Linked DNA regions of Homo sapiens: region 2 is linked to region 1. The links are contacts of gene promoters, found by promoter capture Hi-C in human tissues and cell types (Jung and others, 2019). All regions are on one chromosome and are shown on one strand. Each heading gives the region's core, a stretch centred on a gene start or on the middle of the fragment in contact. The rest is flanking DNA. Distances are from core to core; before and after follow the strand shown. Region 1 holds the start of SULT1C4 (sulfotransferase family 1C member 4). Region 2 overlaps LIMS1 (LIM zinc finger domain containing 1).

What was found. Contacts are between HindIII fragments. The study calls those that stand out against the background at their distance.
Region 2: a contact is called between a fragment that was not itself captured here and the fragment with the promoter of SULT1C4 in region 1, in 1 of the 25 tissues and cell types used here (neural progenitor cells).

What each region holds. Positions count from the first base shown.
Region 1 is chr2:108,375,283-108,380,401 of GRCh38, reverse strand. It overlaps SULT1C4 (sulfotransferase family 1C member 4), which reads right to left and starts at 2,448. Exons shown (of 7, transcript NM_006588.4): 1 at 1,896-2,448. The coding sequence starts at 2,064. The HindIII fragment of the contact is 17,622 bases long and covers 1-5,119 here.
Region 2 is chr2:108,554,869-108,559,958 of GRCh38, reverse strand. The region is part of intron 1 of LIMS1 (LIM zinc finger domain containing 1); the gene reads right to left. Among named protein-coding and RNA genes, the nearest start is that of LIMS1, 23 kb to the right of the region's middle. The HindIII fragment of the contact is 4,582 bases long and covers 1,360-5,090 here.

The DNA.
Region 1 (5,119 bases), core at 1,199-3,698:
CTAGGACTGTGAGTGCACACCACCATGCCTGGCTAATTTTTATTTTTTTTTTGTACATAGGAGTCTCCCTATGTTGCCCAGGCTGGTCTCAATCTTCTAGCCTCAAAAGATCCCCCTGTCTTGGCCTCCCAAAGTGATGGGATTACAGGTGTGAGCCACCATGCCTAGCCAGGATGGCTTTCTGAATCCTGATCTAGGTTGATCTTTCCTGTATTATCTGGCCGAAACTCTATAGATTCCTTTTCCCATATTCTCAATTTAGTGCTTTTAAAGGCCTAGAATAAGGGCATAGGTTAGAAAAAAATTAAATTACATTTTATATTTTATAGTAGTTGGTCTCCTGTATTTTCTGGCAGCAACTTTTATTACAGGACAAAGGGCCAAGATATCTTTAGCTATCCATGCAAAGAATAGTCCAGCCATTTGTACTAGTTTTATGGGAATTTATAGCCATAACACTGAATGTCTATAATGAATGAATTGAATGAATTTATAGACATGAGCCAACATGAGGGCAGATTCAAATGTTGCTAGAGGCTCCGGGGTGAGTGGAATGACTTCTCAATTTATTCTCTAGAGGCCAGTGATTCTATGATGTATTTTTTTCTTGTGTCATTCAGAGTATTATTCTTTTAAAAATTTAGGGTGAACTATTTTTGCCATCTATGCTTGTTTCTTCTTCCTTCTAATAAAATAGCCTTCATTAATGTATATGGTTTTAGTTATGATTAAATATTACTTTAGATGGCAAGTATTTAATTTTCTTAGTGTGCTTTTTGAATTGCTTAAACCTCATTAATGCCATGAAAAACCTAAATGAACCATATCTTTGTACTTGCGTTTGGCAGATAGAGAAAAGATTATTTATGTATTGAATTGATAATCAAGTGGAATTGTCAATGAAATTAAGATGATGAGATGTGATCCTCACCAGTGGCTACTTTTAGAAATTTACATTCAGAAAAATTTGATCCTGAATGGGCTCCTGATGAGTAAGATTGGGAAATCAGGACCAAAATGAAACAGATGGACAAAGAAGAGACCAAGGCCTCCATGTGCCTGCAGAATCTTCTGTCAGGATCTTGAGAGATAAGAACAAAAGAGGATTTTGAACAGTCTCAGAAAATACTGAGGTTTAGATTTTTTGATGTGTGTGTGTTTGTGTGTGTATAACAAGAGTTTTTGACAGCTTGATTTTGCAAAGAGCAAATGTATATACAATTTGTGTGTGGACCCAGTAATGTATTTCTAGTAGATATGTAGATATGCAAAAATATTTATAGAGAACTATTTCCACCTCATCATCACCCAATTTTTATGACGTGGTGGCTCGGCTTAAGCTAGTCCTACTTTTACAGACAACTTTGTTAAACTGATTGTTGAGATAAGGCAGTTGGTTCAAAACTTACCACAAAGGAAGGTGGAAATCAGAAGGATGGTTCTCAGACCCTGAGATGGGAGGGCTGCTGAGGTGATATCAGCATTGCAGAACCAAAGCTCCCCTATTTCTTTCCCAAATCAGACTCAGGATCACCTTTCTAGCTCACACACTCAAAGCAGCTTTTTACAAGATCTACAATAAGGGCCTAGATTGGGAATGAATAAATAAACAAGTCTACCCTTTTGCTCTTAACTGTTTTCACTCTCTCCTGGGAAAGTGAAAAAAAAAAAAAAAGGAAGTACATCATAGTATCATAGGAAGATTGAATTCTAAAAATTTGTATGTCATTTTAGTATGTTTCGGTATAGCTTCAGTTTCCACTAGTAACTTTCCTTAGCCATATCACTCTGTCCAGAGTTTTCCAGATCAACTTCTTTATTTCATGACTAATGCATACTTCCACTTACCTTCCTAACTCTCCTCTTCCCCTTCCCCTGCAAGCCCTTCCACCTACCTGCTTTAGGATAGGTAGAAATAAGCAGGTCATCAGGCTTGGCTTGGAAGTTCCAGATCTTATCCCAGATGTCACAGGTGTCTGTCGGTTGAAGAATTCCCTTCACGTAGTTGACACTTAAGCGCTTTGTTCCATCAAATGTAAAATCCTCCATGTCGTGTAAGGCCATTAGTGTAAGAAATCAGAGGGCTCTTCCAGACACAAAGTTATCTTCAGTCAGCATATGGCTGCGTTGTGGATAGAGGCAGCACTCTATCCACCACACTACCACACTATCCAGCCCTCTAGCACAGGCCTGTCTGGGCCAGCAAACAGGGAGAAAGTGAGTTGCAGGCCTCCCGACTCAGGTTCCAGGGAACTGGAACTCTTGTTTATGACTTTGTCCACTGGCAGTTTCCTGAGGAACTGCAGCCCCCTCCTCACCAGGCTGTGGCGTCACAGCAGAGGCGGCCACAAACCCTGCTGGCCAGCAAACAGGGAGAAAGTGAGCTGCAGGTCTCCCGACTCAGGTTCCAGGGAACTGGAGCTCTTGTTTATGAATTTGTCCACTGGCAGTTTCCTGAGGAACTGCAGCCCCCTCCTCACCAGGCTGTGACGTCACAGCAGAGGCGGTCACAAACCCTGCTGGCTGGGTCCCGTTCCAGCCCTTCCGTTCTCTGTGAGTTAACAGGACATAGTATCACATTGTTTATAGCTCTCATGTCTGTGTCCATTAAACCCTTCATAGATAATTTCAGTAATTATTCCTTCTGGGAATTTTAAACAATTAAAAAGTTGCAGGACTTGCCTGTGAAATTACAGATTCTACACAGAATGACTTCCCTGAGAGACTGCAGGGACTTTCCCGTGGGCTATTAACAGTGGGGGCCTGGATGGATCTGAATCTCCCAGTACAAACATCTGCCAGGGTCAGCTTTGTTATTTTTTAAGAGTAAAATAAATAATGCTAAACTGGAGAATTGTAGGGGTTTCATCACAGCTATGAAAACATGTATGCCTCATTTAAAGCAAAAGGGATGCAGAAAACTCCAGAGTTAACAGAAGACAGTGGCTGCCTTAGGAATCCATTCTGCCCCTGATAATCAGAAATTTCACAACTTGCTTCAGTCCCTGCCCCCGGCCTGGCCTGCACCCCAGGGCCATGCCACACTTGCTCCCCATGGCAGCACTCCTTCTGGAGATCTTGTCGGCTCTTGTGTGTCTGGCTGTCTGATTCTCTTTCTTCGTGTCCCAGCTTTGATGCCCCCTTTCTGGAGAAGCCTTCTTTGACTTTCTATGTCATCTCAAGTAGGTCCCTCCTATTTCCTTGCTCATGGCACTTTGTGTTCCTTTAGAGCAACCATTGACAGTTAGTTTTTGCGTGTTTACTTGTTGGCATTTTCTGTCTCCTTCACTACACTCTAAGGCACATGAAATGGGGCCTGTTGTTTTCTCACTGTTTGATAGCTGTATGCCTAGTGTCTGGCATTCTTCTATTTCTCGAAAGAATGAATGAGTAAAACTAAGCAAAAATTGAGGAAGCGAGTTCCTTGGGCCATCATTATGTGGGGACTAGGTGAGTATGGTGGCTGTGGCTTGACATCCTTCAGAGAGAAGTCAGGCTGCCTGTATTTGAACCCTGTGCCAAGTCCCAGTAGCTGTGGGCAATGGCAGGTTACAGAATCTTTCTCTGTTTCATATCACGCTTTTCCTCAGGTCTGAATTGGGGATCTTAACATTATCTACCTCATGGTTGTGGGGAGATAAAACAGCTTATTTAATGCTTGGCAACAGGGAAATGTTGAATAAATCATAGCTGTTAATAATAATGGGTGACTTTGTTCACCATTTCTCTGTGGCCCATGTTCTGGATGCAAACTCAGAAAAGATCAATTCTTTGGCTTTCCCTATTCCTCATCCCCTCCCTCCAGACCATGGTGAGGTGGATGGGCCCTTGAGACAGAGACTGCCAGGTGGAATGCCTGGGATGCATATGCATTTAAACAGACTTATAAAAATCACCTATAATTTTTCAGTTAGATTTTATTCTATAATCTTTTTGGCCCTGTGTGCCATCAGAGTAGAGTGGTAGATATTCAGCAATGCCTTAGCAGTTTTCTCCAGTGCGTTGTGTGCTAGAGGGGGAGGGCTGGGAGATGGGGGAGGATATGCTTCTGGACCCAAAGATGACTGACTGGGATTGAAAATAGATCCAGGGAAGATGGGAAGTTCCAAATAATTTGAAAAGTGATCTTGACTACAAACACTGCTCTTATTCTCACTTAATGTTTTTACTCAATAGTACTTTCTCATGAGGTTAGGAGAATTAAATAAATATATTTAGTGATTATAAGAATAAAGTTGGTGCTAAGTCTATATTTGACAAGCATTGCTTTGGAATTCTAAATATATGGGTTTGAATTTAAACTGCCCCCTAATAGCTGTGTAACTTTTCTAATACTTATCTCTTCTGAGCCTTTCGTTTTTTATTAATCTCACAGGGTTAATGTAATGTTGGATGTAAATAAGGTATCCTATAATCTTGGGATATATTGGGTACCCAAGATAAAGCTAATATACTCTCCCCCTCTAATTCTTCCCTGAACCTCCCTTTCAACTCTGTCACTGTTTGCTTCTGAGCATGGAGAGGAGATTCCAACTCTTAACGCGCTTTAGATGTCCTTTTTGCAAACTACTAACTTGTTCAGGCCTCAAATGTGATTCATTTGCAAAATTTGTAACTGGGGTTTCCAAACTCTTTTTTTGTTAGTAAAATCCAGCATGCTGGTTACTACCCTTAAACAGGTCTCTGTTTGTTTGCTTTTTACGAAAGGAATATGTAGGCAGGGCATGGTGGCTCATGCCTGTAATCCCAGCACTTTGGGAGGCCGAGGCAGGTGGATCACGAGGTCAGGAGATTGAGACCATCCTGGCTAACACGGTGAAACCCCGTCTCTACTAAAAATACAAAAAATTAGCCGGATATGGTGGCAGGTGCCTGTAGTCCCAGCTAGTCGGGAGGCTGAGGCAGGAGAATGGCATGAACCCAGGAGGCGGAACTTGCAGTGAGCCAAGATCGCACCACTGCATTCCAGCCTGGGCAACAGAGTGAGACTCCATCTCAAAAAAAAAAATAAATAAATAAAATTAAAAAAAAGGAATATGTCTAAAAGACGTTTTGACTCGGCACACTGTTTTAAAACACACCCGGCCAGGCGCGATGGCTCATGCCTGTAATCCTAGCA
Region 2 (5,090 bases), core at 2,401-4,900, 180 kb before region 1:
GGTGGTGGGGCTGGCGGGTGGGCTCCACTTGTTCACTGCTGACTCCCCAGCACCTACGACAGTCCGTGGTATAAATATTTGTGCTCAGAGTGACTTTCAGATAACAGTTTTTAAGGCTGCTTTAGTGTCAAACCAGTTTATAATTGTTTGCCAGTTTAAATGTTGATCAACTCACTAAAAATATTATGAAAGGACACACACCCACATACCTACACACGCCACACACTTCCCACAAATGTATGTTGAAGACTGATATAGATTCTATAACAAGCACATCGAAGACAGAATATTTCCAATTTCACAGAGGTTTCATTTGAGGGAGAGGGTAATAGAAAAATGTCTTTTAAATGTGAAGAATGTGATCCTATAAAGAGATTAGATTTTTATCATGCTTCTTCATAATTATAGTTTCTAATATAAACCTAGCACTGTGCTGCAAACTAAAAGTAATAGTTTTTAAAAATTAAGAGAGTTGATTATAAGACCGCAATGAGAAAGTCTTATTTTCTTACTCCTTATGGAACATAAGTAATTATGTATCACAGGCAATTAAAATCAACTCATATTTACAGACTAATAAACTTTTAAAATTACATGTAATGCAAATCACTCTAGAACAACACATTTTTACAAGTTATTTTGAAGTGTTTTAATGTCGCTGAGGACATTTAACAATTCTCAGGAACCAATTCTCACATTTTCCAGGCTAGCATTTCTCACATCCATGGATGTCAAGGGATATTGTGATTATGTATCTTCATAGCCTTCTACAGAGAACTTTATGTGCAAACTCTGAATTAAAGCCAGTGTCTAAGGGTATATAAATTATCCCATACAGAATAATTTCGTGGAAGTGATATTAGTGTGAGGCTTAGCTAAGCAAGGCTTAGCTCCTTGCTCAGCCTGCCCTAACGGTGGGAATCAGAAGCTGCCCCCGGCGCCTTGGCAGTTTCTGAAGAGTTATTTTTGTACATTTAAATATGTTCTTGGCCGGGCACAGTGGCTCACACCTGTAATCCCAGCACTTTGGGAGACCAAGGCGGGTGGATCACCTGAGGTCAGGAGTTTGGGACCAGCCTGGCCAACATGGTGAAACCCCGTCTCTACCAAAAACAAAAAAATTAGCCAGGTGTGGTGGCATACAACTGTAGGCCCAGCTACTCGAGAGGCTGAGGCAAGAGAATTGCTTGAACCCAGGAGGCGGAGGTTGCAGTGAGCCGAGATCGCACCACTGCATTCCAGCCTGGGTGACAGAGTAAGACTCCATCTCAAAAAAAAAAAAATTAAAAATAAATAAATAAATATATTCTTAAAAGTTTTCTCACAGTTGATGTAAAAGGATATTTGTCTCCAATGCACTCTATAGACTGTCAATTTATTCACATCTAACAAAAGACGAGAAATGCCAGTGCAACAAAGGCATTTAGAGTACTATAAAAACGCACAAATCGTCCCGGTGTGGTGGCTCACACCTGTAATCCCAGCACTTTGGGAGGCTGAGGCAGGCGGATCACGAGGTCAGGAGATCGAGACCATCCTGGCTAACACAGTGAAACCCCATCTCTACTAAAAAATTAGCCAGGCATGGTGGCAGGCACCTGTAGTCCCAGCTACTTGGGAGTTTGAGGCAGGAGAATGGCGTGAACCCACGAGGTGGAGCTTGCAGTGAGCCAAGATTGTGCCACTGCACTCCAGCCTGGGCGACAGAACAAGACTCCGTCTCAAAAAAAAAAAAAGAAAAAAATGCACAAATCTTCAGGTGGGCTGATATAACCGATACTACAAGTTCAAGGAAAGAAGGGGCAATCCATTTTAAATCTATAATTACCTTCTAGTATGTTTCAAAGATACTGTAACAGGAATTCTCATAATGGCTTTCTTCATAGTCCTATACTTAAAATTTTTAGGTATTAAATAGTCTGTTTGCTAGAAAGTATTAATAGAACTGTGAGATCTTGTATTTTATATCCATAATTTCCCCTTCATACATTCAGCCTTTTGTTTTTCACAGATCATAGAGATAACATTGTACTTATTAGTAGAAATAAACCAATTTGTTCTCACACACAAAGTTGGGTACCTTCAAATCAACAACTTCAAGAATCATGTTCACTTAAATCTTTGAAACTTTACAGAAAATTCCAACTGGGCATGGTGGCCTATGCCTGTAATTCTAGCGCTTTGGGAGGCTGAGGCAGGTGGATCACCTGAGGTCAGGAGTTTGAGACCAGCCTGGGCAACATGGTGAAACCCCATCTCTATCAAAATACAAAAATTAGCTGGGCGTGGTGGCACGTACCTGTAGTCCCAGCTACTAGGGAGGCTGAGGCAGGAGAACTGCTTGAACATGGGAGGTAGAGGTTGCAGTGAGCCCAGATTGTGCCACTGCACTCTAGCCAGGGCAACAGAGCAAGACTAGGTCTCTCAAAAAAAAAAAAGTTCCTACTATTTTTTGATTAATGAGGGTAAAATATGAATCTGATCATATGTTCGATATCTTATAAAATGGTCAGTTCAGAAGTTCCATGTTAAAATTACCAAGTCCTCTCAACCAATGAAAATCTATAGTCTTAAGAAAAAAAGGCTGGGCGTGTTGGCTCACACTTGTAATCTCAACATTTTGGGAGGCTGAGGCAGGAGCAACACTTGAGCCCAGGAGTTCAAGACCAGTCTGGGCAACATAGAGAGACACCGTCTCTACAAAAAATGAAAAATTAGCCAGGCACGGTAGTGTGCGCCTGTGGTCCCAGCTACTCAGGAGGCTGAGGTGGGAGGATCGCTTAAGCTCAGGAGGTTGAGGCTGCAGTGAGCTGTGATGGCTCTACTGCACTCTAGCCTGGGAGACACAGTGAGACCCTATATGTCAAGGGTAGGGGAGAAGGAAGGAAGGAACAAAGGTAGGTAGGTAGTGACAGTTACTACAGGACTGAACGAAGGCGGATGAACGCAGAAATGAAAACAAAAAAGAAACTGTTTTAAAGAAGGGGTCAGGGGGATCCCTGCTTCTAGTGAGCAAAGGCAGCCCTGAGCTTCTACAGCCTTTGTATTTATTGGGTAGAAAGAGCAGGGAGGAGTAGGTAACGATTGGTCAGCTGCTTGACTGATCACAGGTTCACATTATTGCTAACAGGCTTCAGATTTGCCTAATCACAAGCAACACTGTGCCTGGGGCATGACTGCCCTCAGCATTCCTTCTGGGCAGCAGACGCAGTTGTCAGCTTGCTAACATTCTGCATTCATGAGAACAGTTTGCTGTTTACTCATATAGCCTCCAGTGGTATACTGAGTTGATCACTGACCCTCATTCTTTCAGCCTCCAACAAAGGAAGGGAGGGAAGGAAAGGAGAGAAAGAGAAAAAGCATAAGTCCATCTTCCAATCTATGTCTGAAAATATAAATAACATAAGAGTTAACTTTTCAACAGTTTGACAGGTCCTAAAAGGTAAACACAGAATTACCATATGATCCAGCAACTCCACTCCTAGGTATATGCCCAAAAGAATTAAAAGCAGGGACTCAAACAGATATTTGTACACCAGTGCTCACAGTACTCAAGTGTTCATAAGTGACATTACTCACAATAGCCAAAAGGTGAAAATCACCCGTGTCCATCAACAGATAAATGGATAAACAAGTACAGTATATACATACAATGGAATATTATTCAGCCATAAAAAGGAACAAAATTCTGATATAGCTACAACATGGATGAACCTTGGGGACATTATGCCAAGTAAAATTAGCAAGACACAAAAGGATAAAAATATATGATTCTACTTATATGACGTACCTAGAGTAGGCAAATTCATAGAGACAAAAAGTAGAACAGAAGTTACTAGGGGCTGGGGGCAAGGCAGAATGGGAGTTATTGTTTAATCGCATTGTGAATGTGAAGTTACTGTCACTGAATTATACACTTAAAAATGATTATGATGGTAAATTTTGTGTTATTTATATTTTGCTATAGCAAAAAAGGAAAAAAAAAACCAGGATAATTAAACCGGGCAAAAAAGAGTCAAGTTTTCAAAGCATTTCCAATCTACCTCCACTATTTCATTAGGATTCTATTTTACAGATAAGGAAACTGAGGTTCAAACACCAAATGAGGAGCAAAGCATGGACCAGCACTCCAGCCAGTGGGCTCCACAGCCAGCCAACTGCAGCCTGGCTCACCCCACAGTCCAGCACACAGCACTTCTGAGTGCAAGCCTGCCTTCCCTCAGGACAGCCTCCCAATTCTACTCTCTGCCCTTATAGCTTTCCTCTCCCTCCACCAACTTTCATGTGAACAGTGGAATAATCACCACAGGGTAAAAGCACAATTCACAAGACTAGGAGAAAAGCCTAGGAGCACCTGAGAATGTAGGCCTTTCACAAGAGGACCACGCACACAGCACTTTGTGCTCAGAGTGCTCATTACCAAAGCAGACTAGGATGCTTCCAGCTGCAGGAAATCAGAAAACCCAAAGTCAAACTGGCATAAACCATGGGAAAATTTATTATCACACAGAACTATGAGATGAGAGGCAGAGGGAGATCCAGGCCTGGATCCTGTGACCAGCAGGTGAGTGCCAGAACCAAAAATGCAGGTTCCTTCTGTCTTTCTGCTCTGACAACTTCAGTGTCAGACTCACCTCAAGACTGATCCCCTCAAGGTCACAGAATGGCTGCCAGTGGAAATACGGTCACAGCTATGCTTCATTATTTGCTCTCTCATTCTGGATGTGAAGGAAAATGCTTCCCCCTCCCCCCTCAAAAAATAAAGTCTTTCCTTATGACTGAGGCAACCCAGATCATGTGGATACCTCTAGACCATAAACAGTCACCACGGGAAAACCATGCTCTCACCTACTTAAAGAATGGATTCTCATGGCTAAGGGTGAAGGGGAAGTAACCGAAGAAAATGTGCATCTCGTTATTAGGAAAGACAAAGGAAATGGATGCTGATAGGCAGCCAGCACTGTCCACTATTCCTGTGTTTCTCAAACTTTAATGCACATGAACTCCCAGAGGATCTCACTACAACACAGATCCGGATTTGGTAGGTCTGAGATAGATAGGGCCCAAGATTCTACATCTTCAATAAGCTT